Linked DNA regions of Homo sapiens: regions 2 and 3 are each linked to region 1. Evidence: promoter capture Hi-C in 16 types of primary human blood cells and fetal thymus (Javierre and others, 2016). All regions are on one chromosome and are shown on one strand. The core of a region is centred on a gene start or on the middle of the fragment in contact, and the rest is flanking DNA. Distances in the headings are between cores, read along the strand shown.

Region 1 (3,051 bases), core at 106-2,605:
CTGATAAGTAGGAAGTTCAAAATGGGAAGGCTGTGGGTTCCTGCCCACACTGTCATCGAAACCTTTCTTGCTTAGAACTAGCTCCACATGCTGCCATAGGAATTCCCGAAGAGTGAAATCCACTAGCTGGCCTGAAGAACTGGAACTGCTGCTGTCAATGTGAAAGGAAAGTTGTTGTCGGCTGTGCTGCCTCATCACCTGGTATCGCCTAGGCCCAGAAAGGGGTGCAGGCACCAGCAAAGATTCCGGGTCCTTCACAGTACAATGACTCCTAAGTTGGTCCAGCAACATACCTACTGGGTCCTCCTCCTGGCTTCCCGGTACTATGTACACGAAAGCTTGGTTGGCAGGCACAGTAAAGAGGCAGTTGATGCTCTGATTAGTCAAGACACGACTCTTCCGGAAGATTCTATAGATCTGGTCCTCCAGGGCATGCTGCAGCCTCCTTTTGGGAGAATGTTTCTTGGGCTTGTCTGGATGAGCTGGGTCTTGGTTCCGAGGAGGTTCTACCTTGAGGGCTCCATTGAGTTGAAAGAGGAAAAGGAGTCTAGGTGGGCAAGGTCGGCAGTTTAGCTTCCAGTCTTTGCCAACTGGACAATCCTTAATGGCTGTTTTAAGGAGCGGCAGGACCTTCTGTCTCAGCCCATCCAGGGCTCTGAATACTCGATCATAAGTGATATCAAAGGAACAAGTGGGATGGACCAGAAGCAAGATATGACAGACAGAGAATAGGTAAAGGAGACTGAGGCACTGCAGCTTCTCTTGATGCTTCCAGAACTCGTGTGCTTCTGCATGAGGTAAAGAGAGTCCACCTCCAGCTTCCCCGCTCTGAAGAGCCCGACAAGCCCGGAGAAGCTGTGAATTGTCACAGATGGAGGTGAGGAGAAGATACAGAACTTTGCTTTCCTGACTGTAGTAGGCCTGCAGAAGGCTGTAGTCCTGGGAGCCTGCCTCAGTTCGGTTACCTTCCGCGACAGCTCCACTTCCCCGAACTGAACCCCCGGCTGCAGCCCCAGGGTCCTCGGCTCCACCGGCCTCACCCACGGCGCCAGCCTCAGTTCTGATTCCAGGTCCTGGATCCCCAGGATCTTGGTGGCGAAAGAGAGGAAAGACCTGTCGGTCGCACACCGTATTCACAAGAGAGAACTTCTCGGAATTCAGGCGTAGAGCCGTCTTGCCGAAGATTCCCACAACGCAGATCTCATCCTCCCGCCATGGAGGCTCCGGTCCGCCAGCCGCGCTCCCTCCGCCCTCAGTAGGGGACCCTCCGGGACTTTCAGAGCCCATCCAGGCTGATGCTCCCATTAGAAGGTCTCGCAAGCTCACGGGACCAGCCATAGTGCAGAGCGTTCTCTAGAGTCCTTCCGGTCCGTTAGTAAAACCGACCGGCTTTCGTCCAATTTTGAAATCCTTCCTCCGCTTCTTCAGTTCCTGCTTTCCCGTCACTTGAGTTCCGCCTCCTCTTCTCCTCTCCTAGTTTGTTTCCTCAACTGTAGGAATTGAGATATCAAAAACAAAAAACAAAAAAACAAAACAAAACTGGGACTACTGCGGTGGCTCACGCCTGTAATCCTAGCACTTTGGGAGGCCAAGGCGGGCGGATCACCTGAAGTCAGGAGTTCGAGACCAGGCTGGCCAACATGGTGAAACCCCATCTCTACTAAAAATACGAAAATTAGCCGGGCGTGGTGGCGGGCGCCTGTAATCCCAGCTACTCGGGAGGCTGAGGCAGGACAATCGCTTGAACCCGGGAGGCGGAAGTTGCAGTGAACCGAGATCACACCATTGCACTCCAGCCTGGGCAACAAGAGCGAAAACCGTCTAAAAAAAAAAAAAAAAAAAAAAAAAAAAGCAAAAATTAGGCGTGGTGGCGCATACCTGTAGTTCCAGCTGCTCAGGAGGCTGAGGCAGGAGAATTGCTCGAACCAGGAGGTGGAGGTTGCAGTGAGCCGAGATCACCCCGCTGCACTCCAGCCTGGGCGACAGAGTGAGACTCCGTCTCAAAAAAAAAAAAAATTGCGAAATATCTTTGTATGTAAATTATAACTTGCAGAACCTCTCTAACTAGAAGGCATATTGACAAATAGCTGCCAGGATAAAACTTACAACCAGATTTAAATGTATAATTATAACGTTTATTATTCTGGGGTTTTGTAAAAAATAAAAATCTTTGAATCTAAAAAAATTATCTATAGCACTATACAATAACATGACTGAATCTTTAAAATAAATGTTGATTGAAAGAAATCAGAAACAAAAGTGTATATACCCTATAATTCTATTTTTTTTTTTTTTTTTTTTTTTTTTTGGAGATGCAGTCTTGCTCTGTGGCCAGGCTAGAGTTCAGTGGCGCGATCTCGACTCACTGCAACCTCCGGCTCCCCGGTGCAAGTGATTCTCTTGCCTCAGCCTCCCAAGTAGCTGGGATTACAGGTGCGTGAGACCACACCCAGCTAACTTTTGTATTTTTAATAGAGACAGGATTTCACCATGTTGGCCAGGATAGTCTCAATCTCCTGATCTCATGATCTGCCCGCCTCGGCCTCCCAAAGTGGTGGGATTACAGGCGAGAGCCACTGCGCCAGGCCTGATTTTATTTCTATAGAGTTCAAAAGCAAGCAAAATAAACCATTGCATTTAGGGGTGTGTTCTTACTAAAAGCAAGGAAATATTTATTGTACCAAGTAGGTCAGTGATTACTTAGTGAGGGAAGGGATTATGATATAATATATATATTATATATATACATAATAATATATATTACACATATACATAATAATATATATTATATATATACATAATAATATATATTATATATATTTTGAGACAGAGTCTTGCTCTGTTGCCCAGAGTGGAGTACAGTGGTGCAATCTAAGCTCACTGCAAACTCCACCTCCCAGGTTCAAGTGATTCTACTGCCTCAGCCTCCCAAGGAGCTGGGATTACAGGTGCACCACCATGGGCGGCTAATTTTTGTATTTTTAGTAGAGATGGTGTTTCACCATGTTGGCCAGGCTGGTCTCGAACTCCCGACCTCACATCATCCACCCA
Region 2 (3,051 bases), core at 240-2,739, 480 kb before region 1:
AAATCTCAATGTTATCTATTACTGGTGGTTTTCAATGTCATAAATGTGCTGCATGAGACGGGGGGCCAAGGTGCAGGGGGAAACACTTTATGAATGCTCACTGCATGTTCTTCAAAAAGGCAAATTATGAAAAATCACTCAAAAAAAAAAATTGTAGACTTCAGTGGAAAAGTTTCTAAAAACCAGGTCCTAAAAAGATTAAGGCAGCACCTCATTTCTGTTTGAAACTATTAAAAAAGTATCTTTCAGTCTTCACATAGGCCATTAAGGTTAGGGCACTGTTTTATATTTAATTGTTTCATATTAAATACCATAAATATGAGTCTAATCCATCTTAATTTGTTAGGGAACTGAAAGTTTGAGAAAAGTAAGCCTAAGTAGGCTCCTTCAGATGAAATGTGGTTTAATTTCTAGCCTAGGAAGATGGATTAGTTTACTTTTATACACTATTATCCTACTTTATAGTCTAAATGATGTGTTACAAATTACCCTAATATCAAATTAAAGACTATTATGTAGTATAAGTACCATATGAAATGTCCATTTTTTGGCATCCACACTTAGAACAAAAATTATTAGTTATAGAACTTAAAGCACAGCTCTGTGCCATCAAGGATCAGATGGGGTTTTGCTAACTAACCAGTATTCAAGAAAGAGCTACAGAAGTTATAAAGAAAAATACATGGATGCCTGTATATTAGTAACTTCTAAGAAAAAAGAAGAAAAATGAAACAACCAAAAAGCCACCACTGCATAATACATTTCCGGACTTCCAGGGAAAAGAATCTGAAGTGAACATGTGTTTAAAAGTTAAGGTCTGAATCAGATGTTGAACACAGAAGTCCTATTAGAGAAACACATGGAAGACTTAGAAGAGCTGGCAATATCACAATGCCCTGGCATACACATAGGAAGTTTGGGCGTAGGGGGAAGAATTCTGAAGGAATAGCATCAAGCTAAGCAAAAAGTTTGATTCTTCTATATAATGGGACAGCCTCTGGCACAGGGACTTTCAATTTTTGTTTCCACTGATCCAATTTAGATTGCTCAAAAAAAAAGCAGAGAAGTCTTTTAAGAACACAAGCTTTTGTTAAGAGCTGTAACTAAAGTTTCTGATCCTTGGATTTAAAAAGAAAAATTACAGGTAAGCATGTCAATGAATTCAGTTCCATCTGTACTACTGAAAATTCACTAAAATGTAAAAGGCTTTTCCACAAAGACTGCAATGTGCTGCAGAGGAAAAGTAACATGCAGTCAGTTATTTTGGTGTATGTGTGCATGAAAAAAAGGCAAAAGTACTGAAGCAAGAAGTGAGGTCTGAAGATGACTTGCTATACAGGCTCTCAAGAAACACACACAGCCCACAGCAATGCTATAAGAGTTTCAAAAATAGTATGATGTAATTGCAATGACTGTTGTACATGCTTCATTTAAAACAATGCATAACACTGCAGTTCAATTACCTGTTTTTCACACACACGCTTTCTAACTGCCTTGCTTACTAGCTGCTGAAGGGTCTCACACACAATGCATTTTACTCAGGTTTGCCCTAAGTTCCAGTGGTGATTCCAGTTTGGTTCAACATAATCCCAAGGCATTGTCCCCCACCCAAATTCTTTTAAATTTGTTTCAACTCTCCTTTACCTTCCCACCCTTTTCTAACCACAATTTGATAACAGACGTAAGTTTGTTTCATTTATATTGGGATGGAGACAAGCCAATGAAGGAAGCAGCAACCAAAAGGTGCCTGAATTTGACATCCTTGGACAAGCCAACTGATAAATAGGAGAGCAAATTTTAGGTAGCTTCAGAGGTATGCCTTATTACAGAAAGTAGAAGTTAATACTTTGTTAAAAATAATTCATGTTGCTTAGCAACAATTATAGCAAGCTTGGCTCTCATGATTAAAAAGGTTTTGATTCCTCTTAAAAATGGACTAGCACCATAAGAACTGGACACCTGGAGAAACATGAGGAAAGTCTCTTCGGAAGCAGCTAGTATCTCTCGTATCTACTTTCAGCAAAAAATTAGTAAGAATCAAGAGATCAGAAACTGGATCACAGTCCTTCAATACAAAAAAAAAAAAACCCCAAAAAGCCTTTTAGGGCATGTATATATACATATATAAATTCGACAACTGTCAGGCAAGCTCACAAAGTAAAACCAGAGGCTGTTTTAATTTACTTCAAGGATTATGACAGTCCTATTATGGTCCAGATACCCTGACAGGGAAGAGAAATTTCCTGTTACTTTGAAATTAATATGGAAACTCACCATACTCAGTTTTTCATAATATATTTAAGAGAGACTGTGAACCAACTACTGATTAGCCTCCTGCCCTTCCTAAAGCCTATTAGCCGATTAGTAGCAAACGTCTACTAATGTCCTACAGCTCTATTAAAGTTATGTTTCAAGGGACTTGCAGAGGCTTTAGTGAAAATTTATTGGGGGGAAAAAGCAGCAGCAGCAGTGTAGAAGAGGAAGGAAAAACATCATGCAAATTCCTTAGACTTAGTCCTCCAGACTTAAAGATGTTAAAGAATCAACTTTCACCTTTTCCTTTATTGCATCAACCTGCAAAGGAATTCAGAAGGTGCAGCTTAGAAAAAAAATCAATTCCATATTGAGCATAAAAAGGTAGAATCAGCAACAAAGGTTTAGGGAAGAAACATCTAACCACTAAAAAGGTATGAGAGAAGTGAAAATAAAGGGCATACTGGAAGCAAAATTTAGAATTTTGTGTAACTTCAAAGCTTAATGCAGAAGAATTTATGCTACAGTATGAAAGAAAGCAGCTTAATCACTAGAAAAATTTACAGCACTTAGGTTAACAGCAGCTTAAAGACAGGTCTCACAAGTTGGCATTATGTTTAAGAAGCTATTCTCATCTATGGCTAAGATAAGGCAACATGTTTTTTCTCTTACATTGAATACAGAAAATGTTAATTCTTTAAAAACTTTAAACAGACACAATGGTATCTAATTAAATGGTATCCTGAGGAAAAATTCAGTATGGGAGGGGTTGTTGGTAGCGCTTCTTCACCCTCCCAT
Region 3 (3,051 bases), core at 201-2,700, 340 kb before region 1:
GCTGAGGCAGGAGAATTGCTTGAGCCCGGGAGGTAGAGGTTGCAGTGAGCTGAGATCACACCACTGCACTCCAGCCTGAGCAACAAGAGCGAGACTCCGTCTCAAAAATAAATAAATAAAAAATAAAACAAAAATAAAAATAAATAAATTAATACTCTAAGTTGAGAGGGTTTTTGAAAAGGTGAAACCAAATTACTATAATAACAGGAAGAATGGGAGGAATAAAGTTTCTCAGATTGTATACTGTTCAAAAGAGGCTGACAGTATCTTAGACCAAGTTGAGCCATGCATGTTACAAATTTAAGAGTAAACATTGATTCAGTAAAAGGAAGTGATATTGTTCTTATAAATAAAAAAAGCAAAAGTAAGTTCTTGTTAATTTTACCACTGTGAAGAAAATATACTTGGTAACTGTGAACTTGCCACCAAAGGTAAAGTATACAAGGAAAAATGGATAAAACAAACTTAAAAAAATTTTAAGCTTCTATGTAATTACAATGAGGAAAAGATTGATTTCAAAATTGTGTAAGCCTGTAAGAAAACAACATGCTTTGTTTACTGATACATTTTTCTATATCACATAAAGCTTTACGTTATAAACCTGAAACCCCACTTTTTTATCAGAGAAACTCCTTTTTAATCGATAATAAGTAAAGGTTAATTTTTTTAACATAACTTTCAAGTCAGTAAGGGTGAAAAATAAATCAGTAACTCAATAGAAGGTAGGAAAGTATAAAAAAAGTAAATACATGGTAGATAAAAAACATTAAATAAAAAACAATAGAAATAAATTACTTTTGCAACTTTTCTGATATAATAGAGAACTTATTTCTACTATGTAAATAACTTAGTCAGAGATATGTGAAGGAGTGAAGAATGTGCCATCCCAAAATATTCCGGATTGGTATAGTAATTATTTGAAATTGAAAACAGTTGAGAAATTGTAATTTCATGCAGCAAGAGATACAGATGCCTCTGGGAGGGGCACCCTCTGCATACCAGAGCGAGCAAACCCTTATCACCAGAGACTTAGAATTGGAGGCTGCAGGCCAGGCGGGGTGGCTCACGACTGTAATCCCAGCACTTTGGGAGGTACAGGCGGGCAGATTGCCTGAGGTCAGGAGTTCAAGACCAGCCTGGCCAACATGATGAAACCCCGTCTCTAAAATACAAAAATTAACCGGGCGTGGTGGTGGGCGCCTGTAGTCCCAGCTACTTGGAAGGCTAAGGCAGGAGAATCACTTGAACCTTGGAGGAGGATGTTACAGTGAGTGAGATCGCACCACTGCACTCCAGCCTGGGGTGCAGAGTGAGACTCCATTTCAAAAAAAAAAAAAAAAAAAGAATTGGAGGCTGCAATGGATCGAATAAATGTACTTGACGAAGTAACCCTTTTCTTCCACCTGTTTTACATCCTCCATACATGTCCGAGTGACTCCCCTAGAAAATTTACTGCCCCTGGCCAGATACTCTTTGTTCTGTCATTTCTTTTCAAATGTAACATTTTTTGTCTAAAAATACAAAAGCATCTTGCTTTGGCTACTTATTCAGACTTCATGCTCTTGTGAATACCCCCATGTACATGTAGAACTAATACAATTTGTTTGCTTTTCCCTTGTTAATCTGCCTGGTGTCAATTTGGTTTCTAGATCTAGCTGAAGAGGCCACTAAGAGCAAAAGGGGGTTGATCTCTGGCTCCCCTAAACATGCACTCTGGTATAGAGACAAATTTGATCCTGAGACCCCCACATAGATCTGAGGCCCTTCCTCTCCTTGCCACCCTAGGTCACAAATCCCTCTGTACAGCTAGACATTATTTTGAACAGAAGCAGAGGGAAGCAGGAAGAAATGTGAAAGATTCTGGATTTAACCAAAAGAAAATTTGTTATTCAAAAGTGACTATTTATTTATTTATTTATTTATATTTTTTGAGACAGGGTCTCAGTCACTCAGGCTGGAGTGCAGTGGCACAATCATAGCTCACTACAGCCTCAAACTCCTGGACTCAAGAAATCCTCCTGCTTTGGCCTCCTGAATAGCTGGGACTACAGGTATGCACTGCCACACCCAGCTAATTTTTAAATTTTTTCTAGAAACGGGGTCTCGCTATGTTTCCCAGGCTGGTCTTGAACTCCTGGCCTCAAGCCATTTTCCTTCCTTGGTCTCCCAAAGCACTGGGATTAAATAGAGAAGTAAGCCACCATGCAGGGCCAAAATAAACTATTTAAACTAAAAAAAGATTGTTGCCTGGAATGACAAGTTTAACGTTTGGTTGGTTTTTTTCCTCTTATTATAGAGCAAGGTGGAAGCTTGCAAGGAAAAATTAGGTCCATGATAGAAATTAAAAAGGAGTATTTTCTTTGCATGTATTGGAATTATAATGTGGGTAAATGTTTGACCCCACTATAAACATTTTTGTAGGATTATTTTTCCACACTGTGTTTTTTCTCCTGGTGTTAATATTTTTCTGCGATTTGCATGCATTACCCCTTTTTAAATTAATTGTAGTCCCCATTGCATTGACCAAGGCGCCACCAAAGCGCCTTGTCAGTCTGGAAATGGCAGGTGTAAAGCATAAAGCAAGGGGCAGAAAGGGTAAGAATAGACCCAGTTCTTTGCAATCACAAGAAAGTGCTCACCCAGCCATTCTGCCCTTTTTAATTTGTTCCTTTCCTCGGATCTAAATGCACTGACAATTAGGACTATAGAAAACCATATGCATCGTGACCATCATTACTCACCGCCCTGACCATTCCCCTGGGTAACACAGAACATTTAATAGGCCTGTCCCAGCATCTGATAACAAAGGAAAAACATATGGCAGATCACGATAATGATTTTGTGTCTTTCTGTAATGATGAAAGAAAAACCTGATCCTGCATAATAATCGCTTTGTTATTCATAGAAGTTAAACGGCATTTCCTCATGAATTTTAATGTGCCATCCATTTTCTCACTACTTATCCCCACAATTCTTTGTGAGCCTTTGCAGAACATTATTCTCTTATCTCTTTCTTTCTTACAGTGATGTAATTATTCTGTCTAAACCATA

What was found. The method cuts DNA at HindIII sites, captures the fragments that hold promoters and counts their contacts. A CHiCAGO score of 5 or more calls a contact.
Region 2: a contact is called between a fragment that was not itself captured here and the fragment with the promoter of SMG8 in region 1, in 1 of 17 cell types (megakaryocytes). The highest score is 5.7, in megakaryocytes.
Region 3: a contact is called between a fragment that was not itself captured here and the fragment with the promoter of SMG8 in region 1, in 1 of 17 cell types (endothelial precursors). The highest score is 5.0, in endothelial precursors.

What each region holds. Positions count from the first base shown.
Region 1 is chr17:59,208,339-59,211,389 of GRCh38, reverse strand. SMG8 (SMG8 nonsense mediated mRNA decay factor) reads right to left here and starts at 1,355. Exons shown (of 4, transcript NM_018149.7): 1 at 1-1,355. The coding sequence starts at 1,338. RefSeq lists an enhancer at 1,477-1,546. The HindIII fragment of the contact is 12,029 bases long and covers 341-3,051 here.
Region 2 is chr17:59,686,524-59,689,574 of GRCh38, reverse strand. The region is part of intron 30 of CLTC (clathrin heavy chain); the gene reads right to left. Among named protein-coding and RNA genes, the nearest start is that of PTRH2, 19 kb to the left of the region's middle. The HindIII fragment of the contact is 806 bases long and covers 1,087-1,892 here.
Region 3 is chr17:59,547,229-59,550,279 of GRCh38, reverse strand. All of the region lies in intron 2 of LOC105371847 (a long non-coding RNA gene), which reads right to left. Among named protein-coding and RNA genes, the nearest start is that of DHX40, 17 kb to the left of the region's middle. The HindIII fragment of the contact is 1,723 bases long and covers 589-2,311 here.